5 separate regions of the Homo sapiens genome follow, and all the other regions are linked to region 3. The links are contacts of gene promoters, found by promoter capture Hi-C in human tissues and cell types (Jung and others, 2019). All regions are on one chromosome and are shown on one strand. The core of a region is centred on a gene start or on the middle of the fragment in contact, and the rest is flanking DNA. Distances in the headings are between cores, read along the strand shown. Region 1 has its middle 44 kb from the start of LINC00159. Region 2 overlaps URB1 (URB1 ribosome biogenesis factor). Region 3 holds the start of HUNK (hormonally up-regulated Neu-associated kinase). Region 4 overlaps URB1 (URB1 ribosome biogenesis factor). Region 5 overlaps MRAP (melanocortin 2 receptor accessory protein).

What was found. Contacts are between HindIII fragments. The study calls those that stand out against the background at their distance.
Region 1: a fragment that was not itself captured here is called in contact with the fragment with the promoter of HUNK in region 3 in 1 of the 25 tissues and cell types used here (dorsolateral prefrontal cortex).
Region 2: a contact is called between a fragment that was not itself captured here and the fragment with the promoter of HUNK in region 3, in 4 of the 25 tissues and cell types used here (dorsolateral prefrontal cortex, hippocampus, lymphoblastoid cells and 1 more).
Region 4: a fragment that was not itself captured here is called in contact with the fragment with the promoter of HUNK in region 3 in 1 of the 25 tissues and cell types used here (lymphoblastoid cells).
Region 5: a fragment that was not itself captured here is called in contact with the fragment with the promoter of HUNK in region 3 in 1 of the 25 tissues and cell types used here (thymus).

The regions. Positions count from the first base shown.
Region 1 is chr21:32,128,546-32,131,245 of GRCh38, forward strand. No RefSeq gene overlaps it. Among named protein-coding and RNA genes, the nearest start is that of LINC00159, 44 kb to the left of the region's middle. The HindIII fragment of the contact is 4,896 bases long and covers 1-2,700 here.
Region 2 is chr21:32,326,168-32,328,867 of GRCh38, forward strand. The region is part of intron 30 of URB1 (URB1 ribosome biogenesis factor); the gene reads right to left. Among named protein-coding and RNA genes, the nearest start is that of MRAP-AS1, 19 kb to the left of the region's middle. The HindIII fragment of the contact is 5,656 bases long and covers 1-2,700 here.
Region 3 is chr21:31,871,735-31,874,434 of GRCh38, forward strand. HUNK (hormonally up-regulated Neu-associated kinase) reads left to right here and starts at 1,286. Exons shown (of 11, transcript NM_014586.2): 1 at 1,286-2,201. The coding sequence starts at 1,941. RefSeq lists silencers at 1,404-1,453, 2,380-2,559. The HindIII fragment of the contact is 17,092 bases long and covers 1-2,700 here.
Region 4 is chr21:32,345,390-32,348,089 of GRCh38, forward strand. URB1 (URB1 ribosome biogenesis factor) reads right to left here. Exons shown (of 39, transcript NM_014825.3): 22 at 1,567-2,422; 23 at 1-186. Among named protein-coding and RNA genes, the nearest start is that of SNORA80A, 31 kb to the right of the region's middle. The HindIII fragment of the contact is 7,941 bases long and covers 1-2,700 here.
Region 5 is chr21:32,303,877-32,306,576 of GRCh38, forward strand. All of the region lies in intron 1 of MRAP (melanocortin 2 receptor accessory protein), which reads left to right. MRAP-AS1 (MRAP antisense RNA 1) reads right to left here. Exons shown (of 2, transcript NR_187556.1): 2 at 2,588-2,700. Among named protein-coding and RNA genes, the nearest start is that of MRAP-AS1, 3.5 kb to the right of the region's middle. RefSeq lists a silencer at 2,582-2,700. The HindIII fragment of the contact is 9,800 bases long and covers 1-2,700 here.

The sequences.
Region 1 (2,700 bases), core at 91-2,590, 260 kb after region 3:
TGTGCCTTCCCAAAATTTATTTATTGAAACCTAATGCCCAATGTGATGGGGTTAGGAGATGGGACATTTGGGAGGTGACTAGGTTATGAGAGCAAATCCTTCATTTGTTCCCTTTAAAAAAGACTCTAGAGATTTTGTGCCCCTTCTGCCATGTGAGGACACAGTGAGACAGCCGTCTGTAAACAAGGAGGTGGGCACTTGCCAGACCCTGAATTTGCTGGGCCTTGATCTTGGACTTCCCAGCCTCTAGAGCTATCAGAAATAAATTTCTGTTATGTATAAGCCACCCAGTTTATGGTAACCTGTTACAGCAGCCCAAGCTGTCTAAGACAACCAAGGAGGTACAATTCATAAGGAAACAGATTTTCCACATGGTTGCTGTGGGCCAAGGTTGACAGAACAGAATCTCTTGGGTCCTTCCATGATGCCAGGGCACTGTGGTCTCCCGAAACATGAGATAGAAGCTGAGAGAGATTGATTATGAAAATGTCTGCTATTCTTCACCCTTCCTTGTATCTACTGCTTTCAATGTTTCTTTGCAGTTCTGATCCCCAAACATGTGAGAGAGCCCAGCCAAGATCAGCAGAGCCACCTCCCTGACCCTCAGCCAACCTCAGATGGATGGATGAGCCCAGGTGAAACTAGAGGGACCATCCAGCTTACCTGTAGACTTGCAAGCAATAACAATGCTTGTTATTTTATCCCACTGAGTTTCTGGGTGGTTGTTATGTAGGTATCATGAACTGATACAGGAACCATGTAGAATACCAGGAAGACAAGAGTTGCAGGACAACTCAGAGCTCCCCCTCTTCCTGCTCCTTGGGGAAGAGATATGGTAGGGAAACAGATGGACCAGCTAGCTAGTAGAGGCTATCAAATGAATTTAAAAAAAAGAAAAAAAAAACAGCTACTCTTTAATGAGCACCTACTATGCACATGGCAACTTTGTGAGGTGGGCATGGGGGCAGCAGTCACCGCTAGATGCCTACCCAATACATATTCTCCACTTCACTCTTCCTTTTTTACTAACAGAATCTTATTTGGGAGAGGAAACAATGTACCCATATTAAAAAATAATATTTCGTAAACTCCCTTGCAGTTAGAGGTGGCCATGTGACACAGTTTTGGCCAATGAGATGTGAGTGGATAGGGCTTCTGGGAAAGCTCTGTCAGAGGAAGGCTGTCCCCACTGAAGCATACCTTGTGCTGTTTGCTCTACCCATTTCTGGCTCTTAGAAAGACATTGAGGCCAGCCATGGTGCCTCACACCTGTAATCCCAGCACTTTGGGAAGCCAAGGCGGGTGGATCACCTGAGGTCAGGAGTTCCAGACCAGCCTGGCCAACATGGTGAAACCCCATCTCTACTAAAAATACAAAAAATTAGCCAGGCATGGTGGCGCATGCCTGTAATCCCAGCCAACCGGGTGGCTGAGGCAGGAGAATTGCTGGAACCCAGGAGGTGAAGGCTGCAGTGAGCTCAGATTGTGTCACTGCACTCTAGCCTAGGTGACAGAGCAAGACTCTGTCAAAAAAAAAAAAAAAAGAGAAAAAGAAAGAAAGAAGGAAAGGAAGGAAGGAAGGAAGGAAAGAGAGAAAGAGCGAGAGAGTGAGAAAGAGAGAGAGAGAAAGAGAAAGAGAGAAAGAAATAAAGAAAGAAAGAAAGAAAGAAAGAAAGGAAGAAAGAAAAAGAAAAAGAAAGAGAGAGAAAAAGAGAGAGAAAAAGAAAGAGAGAGAGAAGGCTGGAACTATTACAGCCATCTTATTACCATGAGGGAAAAGCCAAGAGAATTACAGAGACTTACACCATGATATTATTTAGCCTCTGAACTAAACACTACCAAATGCCAAACCCAGATATCATGTCGCATGAGGGGGAAAAAATCCTCAGTTTTTCACACCATACTTTGTTGGAGTTTTTCATGACATGGATCCAGCCTATTTCCAAGTAATACATCGAAGATTATTTTCATTTTACAGATCAGAAAACCAACACTTGGAGAAATTAAAAGCTTGCCCCGGGCTGCCAGTATATTATTATATTAATGATCTCCAGTGAATTCCACCTCCCAGTATCTATATCCTTCTATAATTCACCCTCCCTCCCATATTAACTCAGAACTTGACCATGTGACTTGCTTTGGCCAATGGGACATCAGTAAATGTAATGCAAACAAAGGCTTTATAAATGCACGTGCACTTATAAAGGGGCTTCCCTTTTTGGAATGGTCCCTCCCTCCACCATGGGAAGAAACCTTGTCTTCACATGTTTCTCACATGAGAGACCAGGATGAGAAAAGACCACATGGAGAAAGAGGCCCACCTGTCCCAGTGATTCTAGACATTCCCCCTGGGACCTGCCAGCCCTCGCTGCAGCCACACAAGTAACCCCTGCAAAGACCGGCAGAGGAGCCTCCCAACTGAGTCCCATCCAAACTGCAGAATTTTTGAACAAATACATGGTTGTTAATTCAAACCACGAAACATTGGGGTGGTTTGTTACACAAAAGTATATAACTGCTACGCCTAGCTAATAAATGGCAATAGCAGAACTTGAATTTAGATCTGTTTGACACCAAGGGCCACGTTTGTAACCACTCTCCTATTCCCCACCACCATACTCCTGTTTTACTTGTTTAGTCTACACGCTTCCCCCAGGCCTGAGGAAAGACTTGCATTTCCCGTTCAGATTCTGTAAAATC
Region 2 (2,700 bases), core at 171-2,670, 450 kb after region 3:
CCCAGGCTATTCTACAAGATAAATACTGTCAAGAAGAACCTTAGAATAGGAATTAATTATTAATGATTAAACTGATCATGATAATTATCCACAATGATGTTCTCGAGATAGAGTGACCAGTGGCCTAATTGGGAACCAAACACAAGCCAACTGAAATGACTACTCCAAATGAGTAATCATGGAATATAACATCAATAAGAGATAGTCCATTGATGACATTTTTAAAAGTTAAAGAAAGATAAAGCATTTTAAGCAGGGACACAGAAGATACAAAAACCCAAAACCAAGCTTCTAGAGATGAAAACTAAAATATCTGAGCTGAAAAATGCATTGGATGGTGAAATGGTTTGGATTTGTGGCCCTACCCAAATCTCATGTTGAATTACAAACCCCCATGTTGGAGGTGGGGACTCCGGTGGGAGGTGATTGGATCTCGGGGCAGATTTCCCCTTGCTGTTCTCATGCTAGTGAGTTCTCACAAGAGCTGGTTGTTTAGAAGCGTGTGGCACTGCCCCACTTCCTCCTGCTCTGGCATGTAAGATGTGCCTGCTTTCCCTTTGCCTTCTACCATAATTGAAAGTTTCCTGAGGCCTCCCCAGCCATGCTTCCTACACAGACTATGAAACCATGAGTCAATTAAACCTCTTTTCTTGATCAATTATCCAGTCTCGGGTTCTTTATACCAGTGCAAGAATGGACCAATAGAGATGGGATTATCAGTGATTAGACACTAGACCAAAAAGGATTAGCGAACTTAAGACAGCAATAGAAACTATCCAAGCTGAAAACACAGAGAGGAAAAATATGAACAGAACATCAGTGTCCTGTGGGTATGTGTAATAGGGGGTCCCTGAAAAAAATCCGAAGAAATAATGGCCAAAACTTTTTGAAATCTGACCAAAAAAAACTATAAACCTAGACAGCCAAGAAACTCAAAACATAAAACATTAAGAATATCATGCAAGCATCATCACAAATAAAGCATATATATTTATATATAAAAGAAAATCACACGAAAGCACATTGTGATCAAATTGTTTGACACCAGTGATTTAAAAAAAATCTTAAGAGCAGCCACATGACATACAGAAGAATGAAGATAAGAATGGCAGATTTCTTGTCAGAAATAACTCAATTCAGAAACCAGAGGAGCAACTTCTTTAAAGTACTGTAAGAAAAAAAACTGTCAACCTTGAATTTTATACCCCATCAAAATCTTTCAAAAGTTAAGACTTTTTTCAGACACAAAAAAGCTAAAACAATTGGTCACCAGTATCAAAATCTTTCAAAAGTTAAGACTTTTTTCAGACACAAAAAAGCTAAAACAATTGGTCACCAGTAGACTTGAACAATAAGAATTCTTAAAGGAAGTATTTTAGGAAGAAGAAAAATGATACCAGATAGAAATCTAGATCTACACAAAGGAATGGTAACAATATGGCAAATATCAAATATTTACACTTCTTTTAGAAATAATGACAATTTGAAGCAAAAACAACACTATATTGTAGGGTTTATAGCATACTGAAATGTAATGCATGACAAGAATAGCAGAAAAGCCAGAAGGGAGGAAATGGATCTATACTGTTACAAGGTCCTTATACTATACATGAAGTGGTATCATCTCACTTGAAGATAAACTATAATAGATTGAAGATGTGTACTATAAACCCTAAAGCAACCAGTAAAAATATGCATGCATGCACTCATACACATACAAAAGTTGCAGGTAAAAGTCAACAAGAGATAAAATAGAGTCAGATCAATAATCACATTAAATATAAATGATGTATGCACTCCAAAATAAAAGGCAGAGATGGTCAGATTAGATAAAAAGCAGAACCTAGGTACATGCTGCCTTCAAGAAACCCATTTTCAATATCAAGACATAGACTAAAAGTGAAAGGATGAAAAGAGCATAGTCAGATGACTCTTGGGCATAGCAGTTTAGGAACAAAATTTTCTAATTCTCTTATCTCTACTTTTTTAAAGCCAGAGTCTCCTTTGTCGCCCAGGCTGGAGTGCAGTGGCACAATCTTGGCTCACTGTAACCTCCACCTTACGGGTGCAAGCGATTCTTGTGCCTCAGCCTCCTGAGTAGCTAGGACTACAGGCATGTGCCACCATGCCCAGCTAATTTTCTTATTTTTAGTAGAGACGGGGTTTCACCATGTTGGCCAGGCTGGTTTCAAACTCCTGGCCTCAAGTGATCAGCTCGCCTTGGCCTCCCAAAGTGCTGGGATTACAGGAATGAGTCACCGTGCCCAGCCTAATTTTCTTATTTCTCACAAGTGACTGTTTTTGATAAGAGGGAAAAAGAAATCCAAAAGCTTTAAAAGCACCAAACTAGATACAATTATATTGTTTTACAAAAGATGGAAGAAATGTGTTTAAGAGACACCTACATAAGTACATAACAAATATAGGTAAATGGAATACATTTGGGAAAGAGAAAAGTCTAAACATTTAGTTTATACTCACTAAAAGCAGCTAATACTCAGCTGGCTGGGATATTTTTAGTAATCACTGACATTCTAAGACAAATGGATTTTCCACGTGTCCATGAGGAAAAGTCAGTTTCCTGTTTTGTGCTCATCTCTGCTACTCTATGAAAATCTTGGCTTTGTAACACTTATGGAAAAGAGCCGCCCTCAGAATGCTGAAAACATGATAGGCTATTTAAAAATAGTTATAAATGCC
Region 3 (2,700 bases), core at 36-2,535:
CTCCCATGCAACTGTCCTGTTAAGATTTGATTACTGAATTAGAGACATTAAAAGGATTGAATGAACGTTACTGAAATAGTCAAGGCCGGTGGGAGCAAAGAAGTCCCTTCAGCACAGCAAGAAAAACATTTTAAGCTGTATCTTTAATATTGGTAAACGGGAACAATGAGACAGAACAACAGAAAACGCAGTATGTTCCGTCATAATAACTGAGGCTGGTGACTTGTAACAGGTAGGTGGATGAATATAGTAGCGTATTTAAAATTAGATGTATTGAAAGCAGGCATTTCTCTGCGTCCCTCTTCAGATGGGTCAGCGAGACCCCCAGACACTGGATTGATGACAGCTGTTGTTCCCCCACCCCCCACTCCCAATCTCAAAGCATTGCTATGGGTCGATGTCATACTTGTTTACTCAGGAATAAACAATGAAAGGAACTTTGTTAGGACCAAATCCTTCCTTTCAGCTCTGATGTTGCATGATCGGGGTGAAGTTTCCATCAAATGCGGGCACCTCAACAGGTAGCATTTTGTAAATGCCTCCTCCTACCTACCCTCCTCCTTCTCCCTCACAAGATTCTTCATTTTCGGTTTGAGAAGACGTTGGGGATCCTGGGAGAGGGTCCAGTGTCGTCAGGGCAGTTGCAATTGTTTATGCGATGAGCACAGTCACAGCGCTTGCAGAACAAAAGCATCGAAGAGAGGCGAGCGCCGGTCCACCTCCTGCAATCACAGGCATCATTTCAATGGAAGGCAAAGAAGGTGTAAGCTACAAGCAGAGGCAGCAAACGCCCTGGTTCCTACATTGCTGCTGCTACTATTACTGCTGTGGCTGCGCCTCCTCCAACACAGCCAACCAGGCTGCGTGCGAGCCCGGGCAGACGCCTGGCCGCCTCCCCACCCTTTCTTCCAGCCATCCATCTATCCTTCCACCCCCGGTCCAGGGGGCCCTACTGTGTGGCGGACTCAGGGCCGGGCACGCAACCCGACTCACAGTCCACGGAGTTCGAGAGCCTTCCCCCTTCCCCCCGCCCCGGGTGGGTGCGGCCAGTGGGGGATTTCACCGCCGAAAGGTCCAGAAAACCCAAGCCCAGAATCCGGGCAAGAGGCGCAGCCGGAGGCGGCCCGACCTGGGCGGCCCGGGAGCGCGCGCCTCCGAGGCCGCGCAGGTTCTCCCTGTCTGGCGCTCAGGTGGCTTCTCCGTCCACTCCGCCGCTCCCCTCCCCGGGCCCTCCCCTCTCCAGCGAGGGTCGAGTTTGACTGTGGCGCGCGGGGAAGGAGGGGCTACTAGGGATTTGAAAGTGCACGGGCTGCGGAGTGGAGCTCGCATCTGTTCCCGCCGCCCGCGAGCGGATTAAATTTCTGCAAATTCAAACTGAATGGGGCTTTCTTCTGCTGCCTTCCAGAGGGCGCCGGCAGCCCGCCGCGCGCTTCTCTCCGGCGGGAGCGGCCGCCCAGCGCACGGCTAGGAGCGATCGCGGGAGCCCGACCCAAGCCCGTGCGGGCCAGACGGCGGCGGCGAGGCGGAGGCTGCGGAGGCACCCGGGCTCCCGGACCCAGGCACCCGGACCCCGGGACCCAGGCGCCGCCGGACCGCGCCCCACCCCGCGCGCCCGAGCAGGGCGACTGTCATTAGCTTCCTGGACGGGACCCGGGGCGGGATCCTGGTGTCCTGAAAGGGGCCCGGGCGACCCTAAGAGGAAGAACTTTTGGGGGCGGGGTCCCCGGTCCCGCGTCCCCTGGGCAGCCGCTATTGTCTACGCGCCTCGCTGGGCGGCGCGGGGGGCGTGATCGCGGCGGCCCCGGGCTCTGGGTGCGGAGACCCAGGCGGGGCTGGGCCCAGGGCGGCGGCGGGAGAAGCCGGGGAAGCCGAAGAGCCTGGGGAGGAGGAGCTGCGAGCGCGGGAGACGAGCAGGAGCCGCGCGGGCCGCGGCGAGCGCGATGCCGGCGGCGGCGGGGGACGGGCTCCTGGGGGAGCCGGCGGCGCCTGGGGGCGGCGGCGGCGCGGAGGACGCGGCCAGGCCCGCGGCGGCCTGCGAGGGAAGTTTCCTGCCTGCCTGGGTGAGCGGCGTGCCCCGCGAGCGGCTCCGCGACTTCCAGCACCACAAGCGCGTGGGCAACTACCTCATCGGCAGCAGGAAGCTGGGCGAGGGCTCCTTTGCCAAGGTGCGCGAGGGGCTGCACGTGCTGACCGGGGAGAAGGTGAGTCTCCCGGGCGCCGTGGGGCTGGGGCACAGGGGCGGGAGTCGGCGGCCAGGACCCCGCGGGGAGCACTGCACTGGGAGTCCCAGTGTGCAGTCCCGGGCCAAGCGCCTTCCCCCTCCGCCCGGCTTTCCTGTTGGGTTAAAACGCGCGCTCAGCATCTCGCAGCCTTTCCCGAAGGCGGCCTGCGGTCCGCTGCCCGGGGGTTGGGGGCTTGGGAGGGGACGGCCTTGCCCCGGGAAGCGTCCCGCGCGGCCGTTCTGCTCGTGGAAGGGCGCCGCCTGGCGACACTAGCGCGGGGGGCGGGATGGGGCCCCTCTGCCCTTCAGGCCGGCAGGGGCGGCGGATCCGTGGCGAGGCGGGAACCAGGGCTAGAGGAGGTGGGCTCTTATGTCGGGGGGCGGGGGGGGCAGGAAAGCTAACAGCCAGCCTCTGGGGGGAGCTTAGAGTCTGATCCCCGTCCTGGGCTCTCGGAGGAGGTGGGAGAAGGCTGAGATCC
Region 4 (2,700 bases), core at 124-2,623, 470 kb after region 3:
GGGTGTGAAGCAAGCTGGGCAGGCGGTCCATGAGTACACTGAGATCCTTGGCTCGTGCAAACGGGACCAGCTGTGCCAGGATCTCCTGGTACAGCCCAGATGCTGGGGGACTGTCAGTGCTAAGAAGCCTGCTCTGTAGCTGCCTCCACAGGGTCTTCCTCAAGACAGGAATGACAGCGGAAGACACTAGGGCAGAGATACAAAGGAGAAGTCATCACACCCAATGGTGGGCTGCAGCCAGCTTGGACCAGCTCCTAGGAACTGGTTGCTATATTTTAGGTATCCTGTGACCCTGGTGATGCCACACCGGTGGCCTGAAATTGGTCACGGCAGGAGTACTGACACCATGGAAACTGGCACACCTGTCTCCTTCAAGGGTCCTCCCCTATCTCATCAGTCAACACTCTTGATGGATACTCTTCAACACAGGGGGCCCTGGCTATAGACGCTATTTCTAAGCTCATGATGAGACCATGAGTGCCAAGGTTCTCAATTCATATGGGATTCATTCTTCAAAGCCATGGAATAGGGAGGGTAGCTGCTATGGTTTGGATGTCTGTCCCCTCCAAATCTCATGTTGAAATGTGATCTCCAGTGTTGGAGGTGGGGTCTAATGGGAGGTGTTTGGGTCATGGAGGCAGGTCCCTCATGAATGGCTTGGTGCAGTCCTTGTGGTAGAGTGAATGAGTTCTGGCTCACCCTATTAGTTCCCAGAGTGCCAGGTGTTAAAAAGAGCCTGCCACCTCCTGTGCCTCTTGCTTCCCCTCTGGCCGTGTGATCTCTGCAGAGCTGGCTCCGCTTTTTCTTCCACCATGAGTGGAAGCAGCCTGAGGCCCTCACAAGAAGCAGACGCTAGCTCCTTGCTTCCTGTACAGCCTGCAGACGCATGGGCCAAATAAGCCTCTTTTCTTTATAAATCACTCATCCTCAGGTCTTCCGTTATACCAATGTTAAATGGACTATGACTAGAAGACTTGCAGGGCACTGTCTTACTTTTTAAAACCTCTGTCATCAATGATAGGAAGTTATGCAAAACAGAGGCAAAGTGGTGAGTAAAAATCACCCATGCATTCAACAAAAGGGAATTACATTAAATTTGGGGTAATTGAAAAGTGCCTCAGCTCTGAAACCCAGTGAGTGGAGACAGAAGAGAGAGCTGAACCCAGGCTGCCTCGACTCAACATCAACTCATCAACATCTCCCCAGAGGGCAGGGAACCCTGGGACATGGGATGGATTGGCACCCAAGAACTCCTTCAACGTAACAGGACAGCCCTAAATAACCCCCGCTACTGTACCCAACTCCCGCCAGCTTCATGTGGGGGAACTCAGACCTGATGGGGCACAATGGGCTGTGCCTCAAGCCACAAAGTAGGGAGACTGAAGGGAGACAGGGTACTGGGGAGAATTACTCCACCTTTCTCCATCTTCAGAGTTGTGTCAGACACTGGAAACTAACCCACATCCCAGAACCTGAATTTCTAGGGTTTAAAAATGGCCATGCAGTTCACCTTCTTAGCCCGTGCAACTTAAGACCCCAGCTGCCCAAAGCTAGCCTTTCCCTTACCTCCTGCTGGGCGTGTGAAGTGGCTCCGTGTCCTGCACTGGAGGTACACATGGATGAGGGGAAGGAAGTCGTCCAGGTCCCCCTGGAGGCCGAGCCCTGGGCCAGCCTGCAGGCACCACTGCTCGAACCACAGCAAGTGGGTGCAGCTCTCCTGGAGGAGCAGGGCAGCGATGCTGAGGGCCGCCTGTGTGCGCCGGGCCAGGCAGTAGTCAAGCAGATCAGCCCCGACTGCGGGGGCCAGCACAGGGTCTCTCTGCAGAGTGTGGAGGAGCACTGTGTCCAGCTCGTCCACTGCTAGCGTGGGCAGCAGAGCCCCCAGGCCTCTCACATACTCGGAGGACCACAGGAGCTCACCACTCTGCAGCTGATCCTGGGGGCTGCAGGTCAGCAGCTGCACCAGGGTCTTTCCAAGAGCATTCAGGTGTCTTTCCTTCCCGGGGGATTTCGTGGGTTGCTGGGTCACCAGGTGTGTCTCAGGCAGGCTCAGCAAGGCCAGGGTGACCTCACGGAGCTGGGCACCCTCCATGTATGGATGCAGCTCCTGCAGGGCCTCCAGCTGCGGCGGGGTCTTTGGTGGTGATGTGGCCGGGCCCGCCCTCCTGTTCTGAAGTTCCTTCAGCACACTCTGGGTGATGGCCTCTGAGTACCTGGCCAGAAGGCCCAGCTGCCCAATGTTCTGGAGGATCGGGGCACTTGCTGCCAGCAGCTGAAGGACCCCTGCACTAAAGTGGGTGGCCAGGAGCTTCACGAGGACAGGGCTGAGCGTGTGCGGCGGGAGGGCCTGCTGCTCCAGGGCCAGGAACCAGCCCTCCAGGGTGGGGTGCCTGAGGATGGCCACAAGCACCTCCTCCAGCGTCTGAAAGGCAGTGACGAGGCACAGACGTCACATAGAGCACAGGGCTAAGACAGGGGCGGCAGCTGCCACGCAAGTATTCACTGTTGTTAGCGAGACAGAGAGCAGAAGGCCCCTTTCCTAATCCATTCCATCCTCAAGCCTACATTTCCATGCCCCCCTCGGGGTGCCCAAGGCATCGCAGCCAAGCCCAGCCAGAGCTGTCATCCAGTTATACCACAATCGCCTGAGACACTCCACCTGCCCCGGAAGGACTGGACTGTGACCTGGCTGGTGCCCCA
Region 5 (2,700 bases), core at 201-2,700, 430 kb after region 3:
AGAAAATGACTATTGGCTGACGATTGCCTTTTGGTCTGACAAAACTTAAACTCCACTTATATGAAGACACTGCGTTCTGTGAAACCTGTCATCTTATTTCTTGCTCAATATCTGGGGATGACGATAAGGACTCAGACAAGTGTCAGTCTGGGAGAAAGGGGCTCTCAGGTGCTGAGTTTGAAGCTGTTCCCTTAGATCCCTGGTAGAATTTATGTAGGTGCTATAAGACCTCAAACCCTGCACTATTTTTAGGAAGGAAAAAGAGCATTAGTGTCCGCAGAAACCTAAAATATCCCTACAGAATAAAACTTCCAATCCCATTTTCTGACAGCATATGCACTCTTTTACTGTAAGGGTTGTAAAATAGATTGTAACTCTTCGGGAGTGTAGGACAATGCACAGGGGGTGGGCAAGGAAGGCTAAGAGAGTCAGAGGCTTCTTTCAAAAATCCTTAAGCTGGCTGGGTGCGGTGACTCACGCCTGTAACCCCAGCACTTTGGGAGGCCGAGGCAGGTGGATCATGAGGTCAGGAGATCAAGACCATCCTGCCCAACATGGTGAAACCCCATCTGTACTAGAAATACAAAAATTAGCTGGATGTGGTGGTGGGCACCTGTAATCCCAGCTACTCGGGAGGCTGAGGCGGGAGAACGACTTGAACCCGGCAGGCGGAGGTTGCAGTGAGCCGAGATTGTGCCACTGCACTCCAGCCTGGTGACAGATTAAGACTCTGTCTCAAACAAAAAAAAACAAACAAAAAACAAAACAAAACAAACAAACAAACAAAACAAACCAAAAAAACTCCTTTTAAGCTTAGGACACACAGTTCAACCTCATTTCCCTTTCCCCAGGAATCCAGAGGTGCTCTTAAACAGTTCCCTGCTCTAGGGGACTGCGTCAGTTTCTCAGCTCGGAGACAGACAGGAGAGACATGAGAGCCAGCCTGGGGGTCTTTGCTGTCCCTGCCCCCGTGGAGTGTAAATGCCAAGTTGCTGATGAATTACAAGGCAATGGATGCTCATGATTCTTTCGCCAATACTGTGCCTTTTCATTATACCCTGTTTTGAGGGGGATTTGTTTTTTTTGTTGTTTTTTTTTTTTTTTTTTTTTTTTTGAGACAGCATCTTGCTCTGTGGCCCAGGCTGGAGCACACTGGCGTGATCGTAGCTCACTTCAGCCTTGAACTCCTGGCCTCAAGTGATCCTCCGACCCCAGCCTCATGAAGGGGTAGGACTATGGGCATTACCGTGCCCAGGTAATCAAAAAAATTTTTTTTTAGACATGGGGTCTTGCTATGTTGTCCAGGCTGGTCTCGAACTCCTGGACTCGAGTGATCCACCTCCCACCTTGGCCTCCCAAAGTGTTGGGATTATAGGCATGGGCCACTGTGCCCAGCCCATTATACCCTGTTTTTAATGTTACATTTTAGGGTCCAAGATCAACTCTTATGAGTCCTCAGTTTTTCCTGCTATCTCTCAGGGGTCGTAGATGGCAGAGATGACATCCTTTACTCAAATACCAATCTTCACCCCAGAGCCTCCACCTCTGCCTCTATGTAGATTACTCTCACTTTATTCATTCTTTCAGTGGTTTGCACGTTCTCTCATTCATTTACTCACAGTGTTAGTGCTGGAAGCACTGCAGAAGTTCAGAGGAGGAGGAGGTTGGGGGTGGAACATTGTGGGTGAATGAGGGGAGTTAGCAATTTCTAATGTGCTGGTTTAGCCCCCTCTGAATCCTGAACAGTCCCTCGCAAAAGGCGCTCAATGAATTCTCGTTAGGTTATCATCCTCTAATAGCGCCTTTTGGTCACACACATAGGCGTCTAGAATATCTCAGCTTGTGACATCTTGGCATTACGCAGTTGGTCTGGGATAAGACACTTGCAGACCCTAATTACGAGCCGGATTGCCCACAGCCACAGACAACCACCAAGAAAAACTGTCGTGCTAGAAAGTAGTTCCATAGCAACTGGCCTAACATTCCCAAACTGGAGCCTGGAGAAGGAAAAAGGCCCCTCCTGGCCAGCCAGGTTCTACCCAGGGCCCCAGGGGGGCTAAGTGTGTTTCCTGGTTTCCCTTTCCCCCTTCAGCCTCAGGCCACAAATACAGCCATCATGCTGGTAGCAAAAGTGCTTTTTCCTTCCTGCCACAGCCCCTGAGATGAGACTTCCTGCCTGAGAGAGGGACTCGCTATTTCCACCTTGCCGATCCAGGCATGAGCAGACCTAGGCTAACTCCCGTAGAGCAGAAAGGGCCTCCCCACCGGAGCGCTGTAGCCCAGCGCACATCCTCCGCAGGGTATCAACTCCTGGGGTCTCTGAAGCTGTTCCACCAACGGCCCCTGGTAGGCGCTGCATCCCTCCCGGGGGCCCAGGAGTCCTTCCTAACACACAGAGCTGCCCACAGCCCTCTCCTCTCCCTCCCATCCTTCAGGACTGTTCCTCTGAGCACCACTAGGAGCCGGGCAAGCAGATGCATGGGGTGGGGGGGCACACAATTCCATTCAGTGTTTCCTCTTAACAATCACCCTAAACAGACCCCGTGGCCAGCTGCCCTGAGGAAAAAGACACTTCTTGGCTCCCCTGTTCTTTCCCAAAGTTATTGTTAATGGGAGATCTTCCCCATGGTAACAGCTGAGAGGCTGGAGGACAACCGAAACTCAGGGCCCTCATTCCACAATACCCTGGGACTCCTTACT